3 separate regions of the Homo sapiens genome follow, and all the other regions are linked to region 3. The links are contacts of gene promoters, found by promoter capture Hi-C in blood cells and fetal thymus (Javierre and others, 2016). All regions are on one chromosome and are shown on one strand. Each heading gives the region's core, a stretch centred on a gene start or on the middle of the fragment in contact. The rest is flanking DNA. Distances are from core to core; before and after follow the strand shown. Region 1 has its middle 5.1 kb from the start of UPK2. Region 2 has its middle 13 kb from the start of CENATAC-DT. Region 3 holds the start of TREH (trehalase).

What was found. The method cuts DNA at HindIII sites, captures the fragments that hold promoters and counts their contacts. A CHiCAGO score of 5 or more calls a contact.
Region 1: a fragment that was not itself captured here is called in contact with the fragment with the promoter of TREH in region 3 in 12 of 17 cell types (non-activated CD4 T cells, naive CD8 T cells, naive CD4 T cells and 9 more); the score reaches 17.1 in non-activated CD4 T cells.
Region 2: a fragment that was not itself captured here is called in contact with the fragment with the promoter of TREH in region 3 in 1 of 17 cell types (naive CD4 T cells); the score reaches 6.4 in naive CD4 T cells.

What each region holds. Positions count from the first base shown.
Region 1 is chr11:118,949,648-118,952,763 of GRCh38, forward strand. No RefSeq gene overlaps it. Among named protein-coding and RNA genes, the nearest start is that of UPK2, 5.1 kb to the right of the region's middle. The HindIII fragment of the contact is 6,551 bases long and covers 1-3,116 here.
Region 2 is chr11:118,983,267-118,986,703 of GRCh38, forward strand. No RefSeq gene overlaps it. Among named protein-coding and RNA genes, the nearest start is that of CENATAC-DT, 13 kb to the right of the region's middle. The HindIII fragment of the contact is 5,393 bases long and covers 1-3,437 here.
Region 3 is chr11:118,678,047-118,681,369 of GRCh38, forward strand. It overlaps TREH (trehalase), which reads right to left and starts at 1,604. Exons shown (of 15, transcript NM_007180.3): 1 at 1,493-1,604. The coding sequence starts at 1,581. RefSeq lists enhancers at 834-1,495, 1,496-2,155. The HindIII fragment of the contact is 8,736 bases long and covers 1-3,323 here.

The DNA.
Region 1 (3,116 bases), core at 605-3,104, 270 kb after region 3:
AGTTCTAGATCCTTGAGGAATCGCCACACTGTCTTCCACAATGGTTGAACTAGTTTACACTCCCACCAACAATGTAAAAGTGTTCCTATTTCTCCACATCCCCTCCAGCATCTGTTGTTTCCTGACTTTTTAATGACCGCCATTCTAACTGGTGTGAGATGGTATCTCATTGTGGTTTTGATTTGCATTTCTCTGATAGCCAGTGATGATGAGCATTTTTCATGTCTGTTGGCTGCATAAATGTCTTCTTTTGAGAAGTGTCTGTTCATATCCTTTGCCCACTTTTTGATGGGGTTTTTTTCTTGTAAATTTGTTTAAGTTCTTTGTAGATTCTGGATATTAGCCCTTTGTCAGATGGGTAGATTGCAAAAATTTTCTCCCATTCTGTAGGTTGCCTGTTCACTCTGATGGTAGCTTCTTTGCTGTGCAGAAGCTCTTTAGTTTAATTAGATCCCATTTGTCTATTTTGGCTTTTGTTGCCATTGCTTTTGATGTTTTAGTCATGAAGTCCTTGCCCATGCCTATGTCCTGAATGGTATTGTCTAGGTTTTCTTCTAGGGTTTTTATAGTTTTAGATCTAACATTTATGTCTTTAATCCATCTTGAATTAATTTTTGTATAAGGTGTAAGGAAGGGATCCAGTTTCCGCTTTCTACATATGGCTAGCCAGTTTTCCCAGCACCATTTATCAAATAGGGAATCCTTTCCCCATTTCTTGTTTTTGTCAGGTTTGTCAAAGATCAGATGGTTGTGAGACAGGTTTTATACCCTTTAATTTTTTTTTTTTTTTTTTTTGAGACGGAGTCTGGCTCTGTTGCCCAGGCTGGAGTGCAGTGGCGTGGTCTCGGCTCACTGCAACTACTGCCTCCCAGGTTCAAGCAATTCTCCTGCCTCAGCCTCCCGAGTAGCTGGGATTACAGGCACCTGCCACCATGCCCAGCTAATTTTTTGTATTTTTAGTAGAGACGGCATTTCACCATGTTGGCCAGGCTGATCTCGAACTCCTGACCTCGTGATCTGCCCACCTCAGCCTCCCAAAGTGCTGGGGTTACAGGCATGAGCCACCATGCCTGGCCTGGTTTTATACCCTTTTTACAGCAGAGGAAGCTGAAGCTCAGAGCAGTTAGTGAGGTATGTAACTTGGCAAAAGTCACAAAGCTGGAAGAAGATTTGGGGTAAGTGGTTGTATCAGAGGCTACTTTTTTTTTTTTTTTTTTTTTGAGACAGTTTCACTCTTGTTGCCCAGACTGGAGTGCAATGGCGCAATCTCCACCTCCCGGGTTCAAGCGATTCTCCTGCTTCAGCCTTCCAAGTAGCTGGGATTACAGGCATGTGCCACCACGCCTGGCTAATTTTGTATTTTTAGTAGAGACAGGGTTTCTCCATGTTGGTCAGGCTGGTCTCGAACTCCCGATCTCAGGTGATCCACCCTCCTCGGTCTCCCAGAGTGTTGGGGTTACAGGCGTGAGCCACCACGCAGGGCGGCTACATTTTTTAAAATGGAGCATTCAAGTCTCCTCCAACCCTGAATGACTGGTATTTTCTCATCCTCACAGCATTTTCCAGCCTCAGGTCTCAAGGATAGAGGTGCCACCACTTCCCAATGGACCAACATTTGGTGAGCACCGCATCTTACCTCCAAATCCAATCCTCCAGGACTCCCCCATCCCTGGCTGTTCCTAGGATTATGACAATGATCTCCAGCATTTCTTCCACACCTTTATTTTAAACCATTTTTACACCTGTCACATAGTTTGACCTCCTGAGTAAGGAAGGGGTCTTCTCTTTATATACTTTATTTCCAGCTCTGTCACCCAGGCTGGAGTGCAGTGGTGCAATCATGGCTCACCAAAGCCTCAGACTCCTGGGCTCAAGCCATCCTCCCGCCATAGCCTCCCAAGTAGCTGGGACTGGAGGCATGTGCCACCATGCCCAGCTCATTGTTTTTTTGTTGTTGTTGTTTGTTTGTTTTTTGAGATGGAGTTTCGCTCTTGCTGCCCGTGCTGGAGTGTAATGGCATGATCTCAGTTCACTGCAACCTCCATCTCCCGGGTTCAAGTGATTCTTTTTTGTATTTAGTAAAGAGGGGATTTCACCATGTTGGTCAGGCTGGTCTTGAACTCCTGACCTCAGGTGATCCACCCAACACAGCCTCCAAAAGTGCTAGGATTACAGGTGTGAGCCACCACCCTGGCCTGTTTTGTTTTTGTTTTTGAGACGGGGTCTCGCACTGTCACCCAGGCTGAAGTGCAATGGTGGGACCTCGGCTCACTGCAACCTCCGCCTCCCGGGTTCACACAATTCCCCTGCCTCAGCCTCCCAAGTAGCTGGGATTACAGGCGCACACCACCATACCTGCTAATTTTTTGTATTTTTAGTAGAGACGGGGTTTCGCTATGTTGGCCAGACTGGTCTCGAACTCCTGACTTTATAATCTGCCCGCCTCAGCCTCCCAAAGTGCTGGGATTACAGGCGTGAGCCACCGTGCCCAGGCTTTTTTTTTTTTTTTTTTAATAGAGAAGAGATGTCACTATATCACCCAGGCTGGTCTTGAACTCCTGGGCTCAAGCAATCTTCCCACCTTGGCTTCCCAAAGTGCTGGGATTACAGGCTGTGAGCCACAGCGCCTGGCCATAATTTTTTTTTCAGTTTTGTAGAGATGGAGCCTTGCTGCGTCACAAGGCTGGTCTCAAACTCCAGGTCCCAAGTGATCCTCCTACTTCAGCCTCCCAAAGTGCTGAGATGACAGGCATGTGTCACTGTGCCTGGTGAGTCTGCCATTTTTTATTTCATTTTATTGAGATGGAGTCTCACTCTGTTGCCTAGGCTGGAGTGCAGTGGCATGATTTCAGCTCACTGCAAGTTCCACCTCCTGGATTCAAGCGATTCTCCTGCCTCAGCCTCCCAAGTAGCTGGGATTACAGGCATGCATCACCACACCCGGCTGATTTTTGTATTTTTAGTAGAGACAGGGTTTCACCATGTTGGCCAGGCTGGTCTCAAACTCCTGACCTCAGGTAATCCACCCGCCTCGGCCTCCCAAACTGCTGGGATTACAGGCGTGAGCCACCGCACCTGGCCAAGTCTTCCATTTTAAATGTGAGAACATTGAAGTC
Region 2 (3,437 bases), core at 91-2,590, 300 kb after region 3:
GGCCACCAGGCCCCACTAATTTTTCTATTTTTAGTAGATACGGGGTTTCACCATGTTGGCCAGGTTGGTCTCGATCGCCCTGACGTTGTGATCCGCCTGCCTCAGCCTCCCAAAGTGCTGGGATTACAGGCACTAGCCAACTGATATTTTGTTGACTGAAGATTTCAAACACATACAAAGTCGGTCTAATGAACCCTACATATCTGTCATCCAGCTTCATCTCCCCACAGGCAATGTTATTAACACATTCATTCCCCTTTCCTGGAATTATTGTGTGTGTGTGTGTGTGTGTGTGTGTGTGTGTGTGTGTGTGTGTGTGTGTGTGTTTGAGACGGAGTCTCACTCTGTCACCCAGACTGGAATGCAGTGGCACTATCTCGGCTCACTGCAACCTCCGCCTCCCGGGTTCAAGCAATTCTCCTGCCTCAGCCTACCATGTAGTTGGAATTACAGGTGAGCGCCACCACGCCCAGCTAATTTCTGTATTTTTAATAGAGGGTTTCACCATGTTGCCCAAGCTGGTCTTGAACTCCTGACCTCAAGTGATCCACCTGCCTTGGCCTCCCTGGATTATTTTGAATCAATTTCTAGACATCATTTCTTTTCTCTAAAAAGACTGAACATGATACAATCATCACATCCAGGCCGGGCGCAGTGGCTCAAGCCTGTAATCCCAGCACTTTGGGAGGCCGAGGTGGGCGGATCACAAGGTCAGGAGATCGAGACCATCCTGGCTAACACGGTAAAACCCTGTCTCTACTAAAAATATAGAAAATTAGCTGGGCGTGGTGGCGGGCGCCTGTAGTCCCAGCTGCTTGGGAGGCTGAGGCAGGAGAATGGCATGAACCTGAGAGGCGGAGCTTACAGTGAGCTGAGATCGTGCCACTGCACTCCAGCCTGGGCGACAGAGCAAGACTCCGTCTCAAAAAAAAAAAAAATCACATCCAAAATTTTTAAAAATGTATTAGGAATCATATTCCTAATTTTCTAACTTTTTAAAATTTTTATTTCTTTTAGAGATGAGGTCTCCCTATGTTGCCAAGGCTGGTCTTAAACTCCTGGGCTCCCAAAGTGCTGGGATGACAGGTGTAAGCCACTGTGCCTGGCCCTAATTTTCTATTTTCTTAGCTTATTAGCTGAAATACTTCTGTAGAAAAATCTTCCTCTCTCAGGCCGGGCACAGTGGTTCATGCCTGTCATCCTGGCACTTTGGGATGCCAAGGCAGGCGGATCACCTGAGGTCATGAGTTGGAGACCAGCCTGGTCAACGTGGTGAAACCCCGTCTCTACTAAAAATACATTAGCCAGGCGTGGGGCACAAGCCTGTAATCCCAGCTACTCGGGGACTGAGGCAGGAAGATCACTTGAACCCAGGAGGTGGAGGTTGCAGTGAGCAGAGATCACGCCACTGCACTCCAGCCTGAGTGACAGAGGGAGACTTCGTCTCAAAAGAAAAATAGGGCCTGAGTTTCATTACCCTTCGCCATGCTGTTTGTCTCCAGCACACCCTCAGGAAAAGCTACTTGTGGAATAAGAGTCCTTGAGGCTGCAGGTCCCAGCTGGGGGGCTGTGGCCTCCCTGGTTGCAGGGGACAGCCTCAGGGCAGGGACAGCTGGCAGCCTTAGATCTGTGGGGAATAGGGAGAAGCCTGAGGACAAGGAAGGAATGAGTGAGGTTCAGGGCTGTTTAGGGATCCCACAGACACTCAGTGCTTAGAGACGATGCCAGATCTCACTCCCTCTCCGCTCTTCCCTCCTGCCCAACAGGCCTGCACAGAAACAAAGCTCTGCCTTCAAGGCCACCACTGCCCACCTGGGCTGGGCATAACTCCTGTCTTGAAGTGGCAGTGGGTGGTGCTTCACTCTTGAGAGAGTGGCTCCCTTGTCCAGAGGGCTCCCAGGTCTCTGCAACTGACCAGGGTTGAGGTAGTCTCACTTTTTCATTTTTCCTCCCTGCTTTCCTTGCTGGTAACTCCAATCTGATGTAGCTCCCGCCTCCTCATTTAAATTTTTATTTATTTTTCGTTTTGTCTTTGAGATAGGGCCCTTCAGTGGCACAATCACAGTTCATGTGCAGCCTTGAACTCCTGGACTCAAGCAATCCTCCACCTCCTGGGTTCAAGCAGTTCTCCTGCCTCAGCCTCCCGAGTAGCTGGGATTACAGACGCCCGCCACCACATCGGCTAATTTTTTGTATTTTTAGTAGAGATGGGGTTTCACCGTATTGTTCAGGCTGGTCTCAAACTCCTGACCTCAGGTGATCCACCTGCCTCGGCCTCCTAAAGCGCTGGGATTGCAGGCGTGGCCACCGCACCCAGCCTGGATGCTGATTTCTAAGTGATAGCCACTGCAGGAGTGGGTGAGGGGGACCAGGTCAGGTCATTTGCTCTGGGCCCACCCAGAGCTATCCGGCAGCCAGAGCCTCTTTCCTGCCACCCGAGTCTATTCAGCTCCCAGGAAGGAGGGGTCCTGAGTCCCAAGCTCTGCTTTCATCTGATTTGGCCTCAATTTGTCCCCATCATCTGCACTTCGTATACAGCCTTATCGCTGTGCACATTCTTGTTAACATCAGGGATTTTTTTGCTTTGTTTTTGTTTTTTGAGATGGAGTCTCACCCTGTTGCCCAGGCTGGAGTGCAATGGAGCAATCTCATCCCATTGCAACTTCCGCCTCCCAGGTTCAAGCGATTCTCCTGCCTCAGCCTCCCAAGCAGCTGGGACTGCAGGCGTGCACCACCGTATCTGGCTAATTTTTGTATTTTACTAAAGACGAAGTTTCATCATGTGGCCCAGGCTGGTCTCAAACTCCTGAGCTCTGGCAATCCACTCGCCTCGGCCTCCAACAGTACTAGATTACAGGTGTGAGCCACCACACCTGGCCAACATCAGGTTTAAGTTGCAAGTGGATCCCAAAATGCAGCAGATCAGAAAGAAAGTACAAAACAATACAGCGTTTACTAAGAAAAAATCTGCCTTTGCCCACTTTGCTCTCAACTCCTATACTTGCACCTAGTTTTCACTTATCAATTATTTTGTTATTTTTCTTTTTTTAGGCAGGATCGCAATCCCGGCTCACTGCAACCTCCACCTCCCAGGTTCAAGCAATTCTGCTGCCTCAGTCTCCTGAGTAGCTGGGACCACAGGCATGTGCCATCACGTCCTGCTAATTTTTGTATTTTTAGTAGAGATGGGGTTTCACCATGTTGCCCAGGCTGGTCTTGTACCCTCCCTGAGGTCAAGTGATCCACCCACGTCAGCCTCTCAAAGTGTTGGGATTACAGGTGTGAGCCACCGTGCCTAGACTTCAACAATTATTTGTTACGCATTTTCACTATACCAGGCCCTTGCCAGGTGTTAGGGATACAGCAAAGAAACCCAAATGGTTCCTCACAGTTTTCAGTCTAGATGTAAAGATACTAAACCAATACACTAATTATGT
Region 3 (3,323 bases), core at 354-2,853:
GGAACCCAAGCCCAAACCTTGTTGCCTGGAGCCCCGCTCTCCCCGGACCTGTTCCCACTCTGCCCCAATCACACAGGCCTTCGTCCCAATCCCTGAACAGTGCGTCAGGGCCTCTGCATGGCCCTTTCCATGCCTGGACTGTCCTCTCCCAGATCAGCTCAGCAATGGTTCCTGCCACAATTCTGCTTACACATCACCTCCTCAGAGACACCGTCCCTCCCCATCCTCTCTAACACACCCTCTGCTCACCCACACCAGCGGGCCCTAACTTCTCTCTACTTCAAACTGTGCTTCTGTTACTGTTTTGCTTCTATTATTATTATTATTATTATTTGAGATAGAGTTTTGCTCTTGTTGCCCCGACTGGAGTGCAATGGCATGATCTTGGCTCACTGCAACCTCCACATCCCAAGTTCAAGCGACTCTCCTGCCTCAGCCTCCCGAGTAGCTGGGATTACAGGCGTGCGCCACCATGCCCGGCTAATTTTGTATTTTTCATAGAGATGGGGTTTCACCATGTTGGCCAGGCTGGTCTCGAACTCCTGACCTCAGATGATAGCTCCCACCTTGGCCTCCCAAAGTGCTGGGATTACAGGCATGAGCCACCGTGCCCAGCTGTTTTTCTTCTATTATTATTGTTCTTGCAGGAGCTGGTAAAGTGGCTGATGTGGCCACAGCTCCATAAATCCATGTGGAACGAAGGGTGGACATCGCCTGAGTCCAGGAGACAGGACAGGGTCACTCATCTCTGTCCCTGGTGATGGAAACTCAGGCTCAGGAAAGAGCCTTGACCTGCCCTGGGTCACAGAGAGAATATGAGGGTCAGGGCTCAAGCCCAAGTGCTGTCTTCAGGCCCTTAGGCTGCCTCTCACACCCAGACTAGGAAGCTGGAGCAGAAAGTTTGCTAGAACAATCCTGAGAAGAGGCCTGCACAGTTCAAGGGGCAGCTTGGAGGAGGAGAGGAAGGGAGGGCGGGCTCTGGCCAGCAGGCTCTTGGACCTCAGGCCAGGCTCTGGCAGCTGCGTCTGGTATCAGGACTGCAGGTCCCGACAGGGGGCGGTGGCTCACGCTTGTATTCCCAGCACAGTCGCCAAGCCTAATGTCCCTTCCAACGGTGGAAAATTTTGGTAAAAATCAATGACAGGCTGGGCGTGGTGGTGCATGCCTGTGATTCCAGCTACTCAGGAGGCTGAGGCACGAGAATCTCTCGAACCCGGGAGGTCTAGGCTGCAGTGAGTGGAGATGGTGCCACTGTACTCCATCTGGACGACCGAGCAAGACTCTAACAACAACAACAAAAAAAACGGACTGCAGGTGCAGTGCCCAGCACAGAGCCTGCTACATAGGAATTCTCATTTTCTTCTCTTCCCTACTCTTTCCTTCCTTTATAATCTCTTCCTTTCCCTCTGAAGTACCGACCCCAGAGCTTGAGATCTCATCCCAGCCTCCCTCTTATTGCCATCCTCCCCTGCTGCCTTCCCCACACCCCTACCTCTCACAGGGTGGGGGTAGGGCCTCCTGGGACCCCAGTCCCAGCCCCAGCAGCAGTAGCAGGCACAGCTCCCAGGTCCTCCCTGGCATGGTGGCTGTGACTGTGACTGAATGAGCAAGCCCAGGCACCTTCGGCTTGCTGGGCACAGCCTGGCTCACCTGCCTGTCCAAGTCGGCCAAAGTCCAGCCTTTGAGGCGTGGCCACCTGAGGGGACGTGTGCTTGGTCTGTGTGTGGCCCGCTTGCCCCTCCTGCTCTCAGGGCACAGTGGCCACCTCCCTTGCTTCTACTTTGCCTCTTCTATTTCACAGTCTCAGCTGGTGCCAATGGCTCAGGCCCTTCCCTCAGAGCATGGTGGTGGGGGTGGGGAGTGGGCACCCAAAGGCCAGGGACACAGTCGAGGCCACACACCTGTAACCTGGATGCCAGGTTCCTTGGGTGGCCCCAAGACCACCAACCTCAGAGAGTTACCATTTCCCTTAACATTTCAAATGGAATGGCTCAAGATCCTGTCCCTGGTGTGGTGTGAAATTCAGGGCCTCTCACTGTTATCTGCAAGAGATACAGCGGAAGCACAGGACAGTAGAACCATTCTGTCTGGGGAGGACTAAGGGAGACCCACAATAGTGTGTCATTTGTAATGAGTCTTTTTTTTTTTTTTTTTGAGACTGAGTCTCACTCTGTCGCTAGGCTGGAGTGCAGTGGCGTGATCTCAGCTCACTGCCACCTCCGCCTCCCGGGTTCAAGCAATTCTCCTGCCTCAGCATCCTGAATAGCTGGGACTACAGGTGCCCGCCACCACGCCCAGCTAATTTTTGTATTTTTAGTAGAGACGGGGTTTCACTGTGTTGGCCAGGATGGTCTCAATCTCTTGACCTCATGATCTGCTCGCCTTGGCCTCCCAAAGTGCTGGGATTACAGGCGTGAGCCACTGCGCCAGTCCTAATGAGTCTTGATGACCGCATAGGAGTTTGCCAAGGGAAATGGGCTGGAGACCACTACAATGTATGCAGAGCATGTGAAGAGAAGAGCAAACCCCTCAGCCTAGCTGCAGAGAACTTGGTGTTCATGCAGGGAAGGGTTTTGAGATAGACTGGAGGAACATGTTGGCACCAGTCTGGAAATGGTCTTTGCCAAGCCAAGGAATGTAATTCCTTGTAATTCCCCAAAGTGGAACCAGCAGAGAAGTTTGTGAGCTTAAGAAGCAGATTCAGGCTGGGTGCAGTGGCTCATGCCTGTAATCCCACCACTTTGGGAGGCCGAGGCGGGTGGATCACCTGAGGTCAGGAGTTCAAGACCAGCCTGGCCAACATGGTGAAACCCCGTCTCTACAAAAATACAAAAATTAGCTGGGCATGATGGCGGGTACCTGTAATCCCAGCTCCTCAGGAGGCTGAGGTGGGAGAATCGCTTGAACTCGGGAGACAGAGGTTGTAGTGAGCCGAGATCATGCCACTGCACTCCAGCCTGGGCGACAGAGTAAGTCTCTGTCTCAAAAAAAAAAAAAAAAAAAAAAAAGCAGATTCGGTTACTTTAGGAGGCTCATCCCCTCAACATATGGAAGGTGAGCTGAAGGGACAGGGGACAGGGGGTGGGCAAGGCACATGGAGTTTAATGATAGGCATGACCTCTCCTGAAGGACTTAGGTTTGCAGTTAAGGATGTCAGTTGTGGCACCTGAGCAGTGTTTACTGCTATTAAAAAGAAAAACCTTAGACAAATTAAATTTAACCATTTATTCAAGCAAAGAAATGACTCATGAATCAGGCACCACTCTGAACTAGTAAAGGTTCAGATAGCTCCACCCAGTAATGTGGGCAGCTGGCATTGTTTT